2 separate regions of the Homo sapiens genome follow, and region 2 is linked to region 1. The links are contacts of gene promoters, found by promoter capture Hi-C in human tissues and cell types (Jung and others, 2019). All regions are on one chromosome and are shown on one strand. Each heading gives the region's core, a stretch centred on a gene start or on the middle of the fragment in contact. The rest is flanking DNA. Distances are from core to core; before and after follow the strand shown.

Region 1 (5,597 bases), core at 1,833-4,332:
TTTGTGCCCTACAAGGGAAACTAAAATACAAGAATTACTTGAAATTACTTGAAATTCTGTGAGTCCAGGTTGACTGTGATGAAATGGCAGCCAGTGTTCCCACACGGCCCAGAGATCAGGTCCTCATCACTCCACTTACACACCGAGGCATTCTCTCTCTGCTTTTTCAATAGACTTTTGACTACCAGAATCAAAGAGAATCAGAGGCATCTAATTACAGGCTGAAGCTACAGTTGATAAATTTTTTTTTTTTGGAAAGAAATATCATTAACTTAAGGGCTCAAAATTAACTTTTGAAGGAACTTACTCTAAGACATTTAACCACAAGTACAAATATATTTAACTTAATGTATTAAGACAAATACATTTAACCACAAGTAATGTATAGCTATCCTGGACAGCAGATCTGATGCTGGCTGAAGTGATGGGGATGGGGCACGTATGTGACGTTATCTGCTAGTTCTCAAATTCTGGCCACCCACTGCAGCCCATGACATCCCCCATAAAGTCACCTTCTGGAGAGATTCCCCACTGACACAGAGCACTGGGGGACCAACAATGCGAGAGGAGCTCTTTCACTGGCTAGCAAACCCACGCCTGCCTTACTGTAGGTGTTATTCAAATTGCCTCTGCAAAATGACATAAATGACAAAACATTTGCATTAGCCTTGGGCTGAGGAGCGTCTAAATTAAGACTATTGACTCCTTAAACAGCAATACTACCTTAAGAATACTACCTTAAATACTACCTTAAGAAAACCGGCCCAAGTCAGTGTCTTTACACTAGATGACAAGGTCGGGGAGGGGAGTTTTCCTGGGGAAATAGTCTGTTCTCCACTAGCCACATTTACAGCTTCTGACTGGTTGCAGAGAAGGCCTGGACACCCAGTGAACAGTTTTCTAAGTTGTCAAATCACCTAGTTCAAGAATGGTATTAAAAAATCTGGCCAGGTGCAGTGGCTGACGCCTGTAATCCCAGCACTTTGGGAGGCTGAGGCAGGTGGATCACCTGAGGTCAGGAGTTTGAGACCAGCCTGGCCAATATGGTGAAACCCCTCCTCTGCTAAAAATACAAAAATTAGCTGGGCGTGGTGGCGTGTGCCCGTAATCCCAGCTACTGGGGAGGCTGAGACAGGAGAATTGCTTGAACCCAGGAGGCAGAGGTTGCAGTGAGCCGAGATCGCGCCACTGCACTCCAGCCTAGGAGACAGAACGAGACTCCATCTCAGAAAGAAAAAAAAAAATCGAGGGGGGTCGTCTCCCCAGGACAGCTTGTGGCTTTAAAACATTATGCGAGATGAATCATTCTTGAAAAGCCCCCTGGGTCGGGGATAGTGGCTCACACCTGTAATCCCAGCACTCTGGGAGGTGGAGGCAGGTGGATCACTTGAGGCCAGGAGTTCGAGACCAGCCTGGCCAACATGGCGAAACCCCATCTCTACTAAAAACACATAAATTAGCTGGGCGTGGGAGCCCACGTCTGTAGTTCCAGCTACTCCAGGGGCTGAGGCACGAGAATCGCTTGAACCAGGGAGGCGGAGATTACAGTGAGCCGAGATCAGCCATTGCACTCCAGCCTGGGCGACAAAGCGAGACTCTGGCTCTAAAAAAAAAAAAAAAAAAAAAACAAGAAAAGCCCCCTAATCAGTCCTTAGAGATAGGTGTGGGCCCAAGCCAGAGGTGCAGGCTTTGTCAAATTGCTGCCTCAGGATACGGTCTTGAGGGTGGCTGTGGGGACACCCAGCACCTGCACCCCAAGGCCACACGGTGTCAGATTTTAGGAAGCGGTGGAGAACACTCGGGTACCTTCTCGGTCCAGACATCAACCTTCTGGAGAGAACCAAAGCACCCACACTGGGCCCTCGCCATCCTAACAGTCTGCCCACCTGTGAGAAACGCCCCCAAATACTCTACATTTCTCGGTTGGCCGAAAAGCAGCTCAGCCAGCGGTCTTACCTCCCAGGTGGGGTTTCCCCCCAGGGTAGGGAGGCCAGGGTCTGCAGGCCAGGGAGAGGAGCCCCGGTGCAGGAGCGGGCGGGGCAGCAGGAGGACCCGCTCCAGCCACCCAGAAGTGGGCGTGGGCTAGAATTCAGCTCCCAGCCTTCCAGAAGCTGCAATTTTACAACCTCACTACAAGCGTCCCCCAGCAAAGCTGCACCGCCATTTCCTGTGCTTGGGAACTGAAGGCAAGGTGAGCCCCTCCCGGCTGCCCCGGCCCGACCTCCCCTGACTCCCAAGCTTGGGCTACTCACGGCCTGCGGGCTGGGCAGGGTCCCCCAAGGGAGCTCCCCTCCCCGAGGGCGCGCTCACCCTAGCCGCTGGGATCGGCGACCTGGTCCTCGGCCCGGCGGGAGTGAACGCCTCCCAGGGAAGAGGCCGGGCCTCCAAGCAGGTCTGCACCCCCGGAGTTATGTTTCTGGGATCCGAGGACTAGCGAGCTTGGGGCCCGGGAGAGCGGCCACCCTCCCGGAAGCTCCGCCTGGCGCAGGGCGTGAACCGCAGTCTCCAGGCCGGCCGGGCCGCGGCCATTCTCGGAGGGCAGCGGCCGCCCCGGGCCGGGCCAAAGCTCCCCACCGCGGGCCCTCACCTGCGCCTCACCTGGGGCTCCAGGAGCGCGGGGCGCGCGGGCCGAGAGTCGCACGGAGGCCAGAGACAGGATCCCCGCCCGGGGAACGGAGCAGCCCCGGCGCCGATCCCCGTCCGCCTGCCTCGGGGAGCCCCCGCCGCCCGCCCGCCGCGGCCTGCACGGCGCGCCGGCCCCGGCCTGGCTGGCCCTCCTGTCCCCGACCCCCCAGCTTCCCAGCCCCCGAGCCCCCCGGCCCCGGCCCTGCACCCGCTCACCTCCGCCCGTCCCCCGCCGCCCGCCGCGCGGACCCCGCCTGCGCCCGCGTCCCACGTCCCGGGGGAGGCGGCGGGCCGGGGGCGGGCCGGAGGCTGCAGGGCCAGCGCGCTCCGCCCTCGGCCGGGGCGCGGGGAGGGGGCGCAGGGGCGTCCGGCCGGGCCCCCCGCCTCCCCGCCTCCCCGCGCGCCGCCGCTGCCGCCGCCCCGCGCCCGGGCCGCGCCGTGGGAAGCGCGGGAGGGGAGGGGCGGGGCGGGGGGCGGGGCGACCCCCCCAAGCCGCCCCCTCCCCGCGACCTACCGGACGGTGGCGGCGGCGGCCGCACTCCGGAAGCCGTGCCCGTGGCTGGGCATCATGGGAATGGCACGGCCGAGTTCCGGGGGAGGCGCGCGGCCCGGCCGGACCCCCGCCCGCGAGAGCGCGCCCACCTGCCGCCGCGCCCGCGCCCCGGGGACGCCCCCGCCCCGCCCCGCCCGGTTCGGACGCGGCCCCCTCCGCGGGGTGCGGGGCGAAGGCGCTTGGGCCGGGCCGAGCCCCGTGCTGCCCGCCTCCCGTACCGCGGCCACCTCCGGGGGGCGCGCAGGGGGCGCGGGGTCGCCGGGAAGTTCTGGGCGCGGGGGGCGTGGCCGTGGGAAAGCGCTCGGAGCCGCGGGAAGGGAGCGTGCGGGGCCCCGGCGCCAACCGAGTTCCTCCCCGAAGTTCACGCGGGGCTCCGGGCTGAGACCGGCCCGCCCGCCCCTCCAGCCCCACAGCCTTGGGCCGGGGTCGGGGGCGGCCCCCGCGTGTCCCCGCGGCTGCCCCACCCGAGCTTGCGGCGGGGAGTGGACGCACGACCTGCCCGGGGCGGCGGCTCCTCGAGCACACCTGCCGCCAGGTTCGGGGGAGGGAACAGTTTCTAGGAACTGCCCCGGACCTTGAGGCCGCTGCTGTTTCTGCTTCTGCTGTGCACTGACCATGTGACCTTGAAAGTCTTCCCAGTTTTGTTTTATAAAAGGTCCAGGGTGTGTGCCCGAGGCTGGCGGTGGCCCGGGTGTGCTCAGCATCCCCGGGCGGCGGGGAACGGGCAGACCCGACTGGATCCTCCCTCAGCGCCCACTCGTGGAAGGGGCAGATGGTGCGCAGGGGCACCGCGCTGCTTCTGTAAGCCCCCTGGGCCCTGATCCACACGTGTCTGGGAGATGAATTTGTGGGTTCGGTTCCTGTCTAGAAAGTGTCAGAGATTTGATAGGATCAAAATCAGAGACTTGCCTTGGAGGGGTGCTTCTAGTCATGCCAGCCTGGGAAGCTGGAGGGCCAGTTTTGGGTCAGGAAACCCATTAAAGAATTGTTTTAATGCCTTCGTGAATTTTTTCAAAAAGCAATTTTTTTTTTCTCATGAAATAATACTCTTTCATTACCAAACTTTGGGGAGATGATCTAATTAATAAGGTGACTTCCCAGAGACATGGGCTGTTAAGGTTTTGGCATGCTGCTTCACAGTTTTTAAAACAGTGCTGTGGTGAACAGCTTTCATGATGCCTCCTTAGAGCGGCTCTGAGCATTTCCTGCGGGCAAATCCCTAGAAGAGGCCGGCGGGCCAAAGACTATGCTGCATTTTGCCAAAATGCCCTCCAGAAATGCGGGGCCAGCCTGCCGTCCACCCACTGGTGAGCGGGCATGCCCGCTTGCCTGTCCTCTTGCCAGCCCTGAGATATGTCATTGCGTTATGTCTTTGGCAGTCTGATAGGCGAAACAGCCCTTTTCATCACTTGAATCCTAATTTCTTTGACTGCTGGTGATGTTGAACATCTTTTCATTTTATTATTGGCCATTTGGAATATTGCCTGTCTGTGTTCTTTGCCCATTTTTTATTTTTCTGTTGGGCTGTGTGTCTTTTTCTTAGGGATTCTAAGAGCTTGTTACCGTAAGGAATTTAGCTCTTCTCTGTGCTGTATGCTACTCTGTACAAGAGCGTAAATGCAATGTATGGTCGGGCGCGGCGGCTCACCCCTGTAATCCCAGCACTTTGGGAGGCCAAGTTGGGCAGATCACCTGAAGTCAGGAGTTTGAGACCAGCCTGGCTAACATGATGAAACCTCGTCTCTACTAAAAAATACAAAAATTAACCGGGTGTGGTAGCGGGTGCCTGTAATCCCAGATAATCGGGAGGCTGAGGCAGGAGAATTGCTTGAACCCAGGAGGTGGAGGTTGCAGTGAACCGAGACGGTGCCACAGCACTCCAGCCTGGGTGACAGAGCGAGACTCTGTCTCAGAAAAAAAGTGTATTGTACAACAGTACAATAACACAGAATATTGTACAGTAGTACAATATACTCTTGTACATTGCATTTATTTTTCTGTCATTTTTCTTTTGACTTTGGATTTTGGTTTTTTGTTTGTTCAACCTTTTTTTTTTTTTTTTTTTTTTTTTGAGACAGGGTCTTACTCTGTGTACACCCAGGCTGGAGTGTAGTGGCGTGATCATGGCACTGCAGCCTCAACCTCCCCCGGCTCAGGTTATCCTCCCACCTCAGCCTCCCCAGTAGCTGGGACTACAGGTGCACGTCACCACGCCTGGCTAGTTTTTGTATGTTTTTGTAGAGATGGGGTTTTGCCATGTTCCCCAGGCTGGTCTTGAACTCCTGGCTTGAGTGATCCACCCTCCTTGGCTTCCCAAAGTGCTGGGATTACAGATGGGAGCTACTGTGTCCTGCCTTTTTATTTTTTTACTACACACAAGTTTGAAGTTCTTCTGTAGCTAAATCAATCAAGTTTTCTT
Region 2 (5,700 bases), core at 2,522-5,021, 42 kb before region 1:
CTGAGCCCCAGAACTGGATTTTCTCAAATGTCCTCTAAAGCTGTTCACTCACCCTAATCGCTCCCTGGAGAGCAGGTTTCTGCAGGAAAAGGAAGCACAGGCGTTAGGAGACCCCAGGAATGCAGTCAGGACCGGGGCCCCTCATCAGCCACCAGCTCCACCACCCCAGGAAGGACAAAGCCAGAATTAGACGCAGCACAGTTATGCGCCCGTGCAATGCAGCTCTGCTGATGTCCCCACGCGGGGACATGGGGGGCTCTGCAGGGCCATGCCTCCTACCGCTCTGCCTGGGGATGAGGATGCTCTCCGTGCTGAGTCCGCGGGCTCCTGCGGCTTTCTCAAAGTCCTCCAAGGCTTCCAGGTTGTTCTTGGGGTCTCTGCCTGTGGGTGCCAGGACGAGATGTGGGTGCTCGAGGCAGCACTGGGCCGACGGCACCCCATCCCAGTCTGGAGGCCTGAGCTGGGCTGGGGAAGGGGACCTCGCCCACCGTGGGGGGAATTGAACCCAGAGGCCCTCAGGCTGGCAAAGTGGGACCAGGGTGCCGTGCACGGCTGAGAAGGCTCCTGTGGCAGCAGAACCGGGAGAACGGGAAGGGCTCTCCATCCATCCCTGAGCATCTCCCGGAGTGAGGATGGACGGCACGACAGGCCCACCCTGGAGGAAGCGCCTCTCCCCTTGGGGGCACCAGGATCCCAATCCTCTGTCATTCGCACACCCCTGGCTCCAGGGAGAACTCAGGAGCCTTCATGGGCCTCGTCCTCTGACAGGGACAGCACTGATGAGTCACCATCTGTGGGAGGCACCGCGTCCGGAATTCAACCCCGGGAGCTGGAACGTTCTTTCCATGCAGACTTCTGCTCACATCCCTGTTCCTCTCTCCTGCTGGACACCCCACAGGAACGCGCTCAAGGATGACACTGCAGGGAGCTGCTCCGGGGGAGGGCCTGGCCCACTCTGGGACATGTGTGACCTTTGAACCCCTGTGCCTGCAGCCGTGGCTCCTTCCTGCCTCTGCTGCAGATACCGAGGCCGGGGCATCCCAAATCCTGAACTCCAGGGGTGGGAATTGAGGCCTTTATCAGGAAAACTCATCCTAAGAAAACTGCAGTGGGTTCCTGGGTCCCAGTGGCTTCTCCCATGGGGAAGAGGGTGCAGGAGGCCGAGGGAGGAGGGAGGGCAGGTGGAGGCATGGGTTGCAGGGTGAGGGTGCGGGACCCACCCACGAGCTTCACCCCTCGGACCGGCTTCCCGTGCAGCTCGCCCTCACAGTAAAAGATGTAGTGGTCCTTCACGTGCGACCTGATGATGTATGCCACGTGCTTGCCCCCGTCTGCAGAAAGACAGCAGCACATTCCTGAATTAGCCACCAGGGACTTCAGAGAGGATCCCGGGACAGCGTGCGTTGCCAGGCCCAGCAAGCCCCGCAGCTCCTGCACCCTCCCAGCCTCCCAGAGCTCCCTGACCCAGGTTCCCCACCAGGCCTGAGCCCCAGGCCATGGGACCCCCACTTCCCAGGAACCTGATGTACCCAAGAGGCGGCCACATCCCAAACCAGTGAGTCACGGGGGGTTCCTCCGGGTATGAGGTCTGCGGAGGTGGGAGTTGGGGTACAGCCCCCCGCAGCCAAATACGACTCTGCTCCTGGCCCTGCCAGAGCCACAGCCAGGGCTACAGGGCAAGCCCAGAGGGTCCGCCCCGGGACAAACCTGCCACACCTGGTGTTTGGGGTCAGGTGTTCAAGTCTCTAATGCAAATTGACCAGTGGGAGAAGAGAGTGGGCTTTTAGTGGAGTCAGAAGGCAGCAAAAGGCTTCCCAGGCCAAAAGGCCACCCCAAAAAGGCACTGGCTGCCCCCGCACATCCAGCGTGTGTTCAAGCTCAGGCTCTGGCTCAGGCCCCGGGACTCACCGGCCGTGTATTTTCCCGGCTCGTCAGTTTTCTCCAGGACGGCCTTCACCTCCTGGCACCGGCCACTTATCCTGGAAAACAGAAGCCCCCTGGCAAAGCGGCCCTGGCCTGTGCCTCCCCCGGCCCTGGAGCAACCATGCTGCAATGCCCTGCAAATGTGGCCCCGAGTCTGCCACAGGCCCATGGAGGAGGGTGCTTCTCTGCATCTCAGACCCAGGCACCAGCGGCCCCTCCGGGTCCCATGCGGCAGTTCCCGGGGTCTCCCGAGATGGCCAGGAGCTCTGCACCGCTCCTCCTGGTGGCTGCCTTCCCAAACCCCCCGCCCCCAACACATTTCCTGCCAGAGGCACCCAGGCTGCCTGGTTTGCAGGCAGCGTCTGTGGCGTGGGCCTGAGCCTCATCCCGCCAGCTGCATTCTTCCTTTTAGAGACATTCAGGCACAAGCCCCATATCCATCATCATCTGGCCCAGAGAGGGAAAGGTTCAGTGAGGGGCTTTGGGGGAAAAAAAAATCGGGGTCATTGCCAGGGTCAGTGACTTCCTGAGATTCAGCCCCCAGGACCGGAGCACAGGCACTGCATGCCACTCAGGAGGGAGCCATGCGGGTGAAATCACACAGGTGGGAAGTCACAGATGTGAGCCACGCGGGTGGAAGCAGCCCAGGTGAGAGCCGCACAGGTGAGCGCTACACAGGGATTTCAAGGGGGTCTTCTCCATGGTGTCTTCTCCTATGCCCCCTCTTGGTCATTCTGCAAGCCCCATCCCTGCACTTCTCCAAAGCAGAAATTTACTGCCAGGACTGGCTCTGACTCTGGTCGGGGGTAAACACCTTTTCCCAAAGGGGCCTGCACGTCACCAGACATTCCCTAGTCGGAGGAGGAAGTGGGCGGTACCCAGGGCTGCCACTGGTAGCCCACAGGGTCTGATCCGGGGCCTCTGCCCCCTCAGGGCCCCTCCAGCCGAGGCACCTCAGTGGCACAGTTTGCCCTCAAGCATTGCAGGAGGGGCCGAGAGAGGCCTCCCAGCAGGTCTGCCCACCTCCCCAGCACCAGAGCTCTCCTGGGTGGGGAAAGGGAAGGCCCTAGACCAGGTTGCAGGCTGCCCGGCCGGCTGGCAGACACTCACAGCATGGTGACCTTGGCTTCCAGGTTGCCCCCTTCCAGGGTCGTGAGGGTCATGGGTGTCACCGATTCCAGATTCATCTCAGGGAACTCCCTGTCCACCGTCATGGCCTTCAGATACCACGTCCCTGACACCTGGAGAAGGCCCCTCTCTATCAGGCTCAGGCCGACTGCTCCAGAGCCTCCCCCTTCCCTGGCCTGCAGCCCCTAGACTCTACCGCACCCCGAGGGCTGGAAACGGGGAACGTTCCCCAATCTAACCCACCCAGAAAACACCCAGCACCCTCGCCAGGCCCACTTGAAGGTGGCTCCAGCCCCCACAAGCCAGCCAGGACCACAGGAGCCCTCATCCCCAGGGAAGAAGTGAAGTCAGCCAGACCCCCACCCTCCCAGCCCTGCCCACTCTGCACCCCTGCGCCACCTACCCTGCCAGCCCAGACCCCTGCTGCCCCATCCCACCATTCCCTCAGGGCAGGGCTTGAATGCCCAACCCAAAAACGAGGGTCTCCTTGGATGGAGGAGGCATGGGGTCTCCATCCAGTCTCAGCCTCGCCCCTTGCCCCCTCCAGCCCAGCCTTCCCATCCGGGCCTCACATCCTGAATCTCCTCGTCTGAGGCCAGGAGGTGGTGGGCCTGCAGGGCAGCAATGAGGCCAAGGCTGACGGCCAGGAGCAGGGGCTTCATCTCCGGAGTCTGAGTCCACGGCCGCCTGACAGGTCGCTTGCTGGGGCTGGGAGAGGCTGTACCAGTCCTCCCACAGCCGCCCTTTATACCGCTGGGCTCAGGGTCCCCCAGGGACCTGGCACAGGAGACTGACCAATCCCTTCCTGGATGTAAACCACTGCCAGTTCTGCAATGGAGCAGATAACCTGCCATTATTGTTGGAGGCTGGTGAATAACAGCTTGTTAATCCCAGAGGATCACTTGGACAGGACCAGGTCCAGAGGAGCAGATTTGCAGATTTCACCTGAAGGGAAACTGAAGGGAGTGAAGGGTGTGCAGGCCTCCTGGGGACGTGTGCAGCCGTAACAGATGCCCCCCAGCCATCCCACACTTGCTGACGTGCACACTGTCAAGGGGGTTTGGGGTTGGAGTCCGAGGGCCGTGGGCTTGGGGCTCAGCTGAGCTTCCTGCATCTCTGGGCAGGTTACTTGGCCTCAGATTCATCATGGAAAAAAAGGGACCCTCCTGTGTGAACACGATCCCGTGTGCATTTAAAGACGGTGTCCACTGTCCTGAGCAAGGTGTGCAGTAACGACCCTCTCTGCTCCACACACAGAGCAGCAATAGGTCAGACAGACAGAAGACCAAGACAGGTGTGTGTGTGTGTATGCATGTGTGTACATATATACATGCACAAACGCACACACACTCACATAAAACAAGGAATGGAGGAGAAGCACAGGCTGGTGATGGGGCAGAGGCAGGGGCCTGTCAGCTCCAAGTCCCAAGGCAGGCAGAGAGGGCCTAGGTCCGGCTCCTGGGAGTGATGGGAGGGGCTTCCCTGACTCCAGAAAGAAGGCTGAGAAACCCTCCTTGACACATCCCAGGGCTGTAACTTCGTATAACTTAGTGGAGCACTGTGGGCATAGGAAGGCAAGAGGACATCAACACAGCCTCAAGGGCAGAAGCTGAGACAAGCCGTCCTTGGAAAGGATGACTTTATCTGTGACATGCTCTGCATCACTGCAGAGCAGAAGCCTGGGACCCGGGATGGGAGCAGAGGCTACAAAACACTGCTAGACAGAGGACAGTGACAACAAGATGGCAGAGAAAGGCAGAAATGCAGAGACACAATATCCTCACCTTGAAATAAGCTAGAAAGGCCAGGTTCCAAATTACCCAAGGAAACACCACACTAAGAAAGGCAGGCTAAAAATGAGCAATTGGTACAGGAACTTACACCAGCCAAGGAAAGTCTGACACACACTTTAAAACTGCAGGAGTATGATCAAGATGCCTAGTGATTTAAAAATATATAAAGTATAAAATTAGAACTGGCCAGAATATAAGAAATAAGGAGAGACGAAATAGAAATAATTACAAATCTTGAAGATGAATAATAAAGTGAATAAAAAACTCAATAGACAGGTTAAATTCCAGACTTGACATAGTAGAAAAGAGACTTAGTGTCATGGAAGATAGTACTAACAAAATCAATGAAAGCAGAAAAATTCAAAAGAGAAATTGAGGTGTTACAGATAGATTCAGTCTCCAGCCTGGAGCTAGTAATAAAATGAGTGGAGGAAACCAACTAGAGTGCAGCAGCTCTGAAAACACAACACACAGAGATATACACACACACATGCACACACACGCACACACACATGCACACACACACATGTGCACACATACAAATGCACACAAACCCATACACATGCACACCCACATACACACGCAGACATACACGCGTGCACACACCATTCATTCATACATACATGCACATACATGCACACATACACACACACATGCACACTCACACACATACACACATGCACACACATGCACAAAGTTAACACACATGGAGAATAGATCAGGAGGTTCCAATATAAACAGAATAGGAGTTCTGAAAGAAAAACATTTTCTAAAATGGCAACAAAGCAACAGAATAGCTCAGAATTCTTCAGAATTGAAAAGACATGAAGATGACACCCCAGATCTAAATTACCAA

The links. The method cuts DNA at HindIII sites, captures the fragments that hold promoters and counts their contacts. A contact is called where the count stands out against the background at its distance.
Region 2: a contact is called between the fragment with the promoter of LCN1 here and the fragment with the promoter of PPP1R26 in region 1, in 1 of the 25 tissues and cell types used here (psoas muscle).

Annotation. Positions count from the first base shown.
Region 1 is chr9:135,477,267-135,482,863 of GRCh38, reverse strand. It overlaps PPP1R26 (protein phosphatase 1 regulatory subunit 26), which reads right to left and starts at 3,082. Exons shown (of 4, transcript NM_014811.5): 1 at 2,842-3,082; 2 at 49-181. RefSeq lists silencers at 2,441-2,490, 2,501-2,560. The HindIII fragment of the contact is 17,940 bases long and covers 1-5,597 here.
Region 2 is chr9:135,519,511-135,525,210 of GRCh38, reverse strand. LCN1 (lipocalin 1) reads right to left here and starts at 3,771. Exons shown (of 7, transcript NM_002297.4): 1 at 3,624-3,771; 2 at 3,034-3,164; 3 at 1,909-1,979; 4 at 1,221-1,331; 5 at 280-381; 6 at 53-79. The coding sequence starts at 3,713. The coding sequence ends at 54. RefSeq lists an enhancer at 23-906. The HindIII fragment of the contact is 21,100 bases long and covers 1-5,700 here.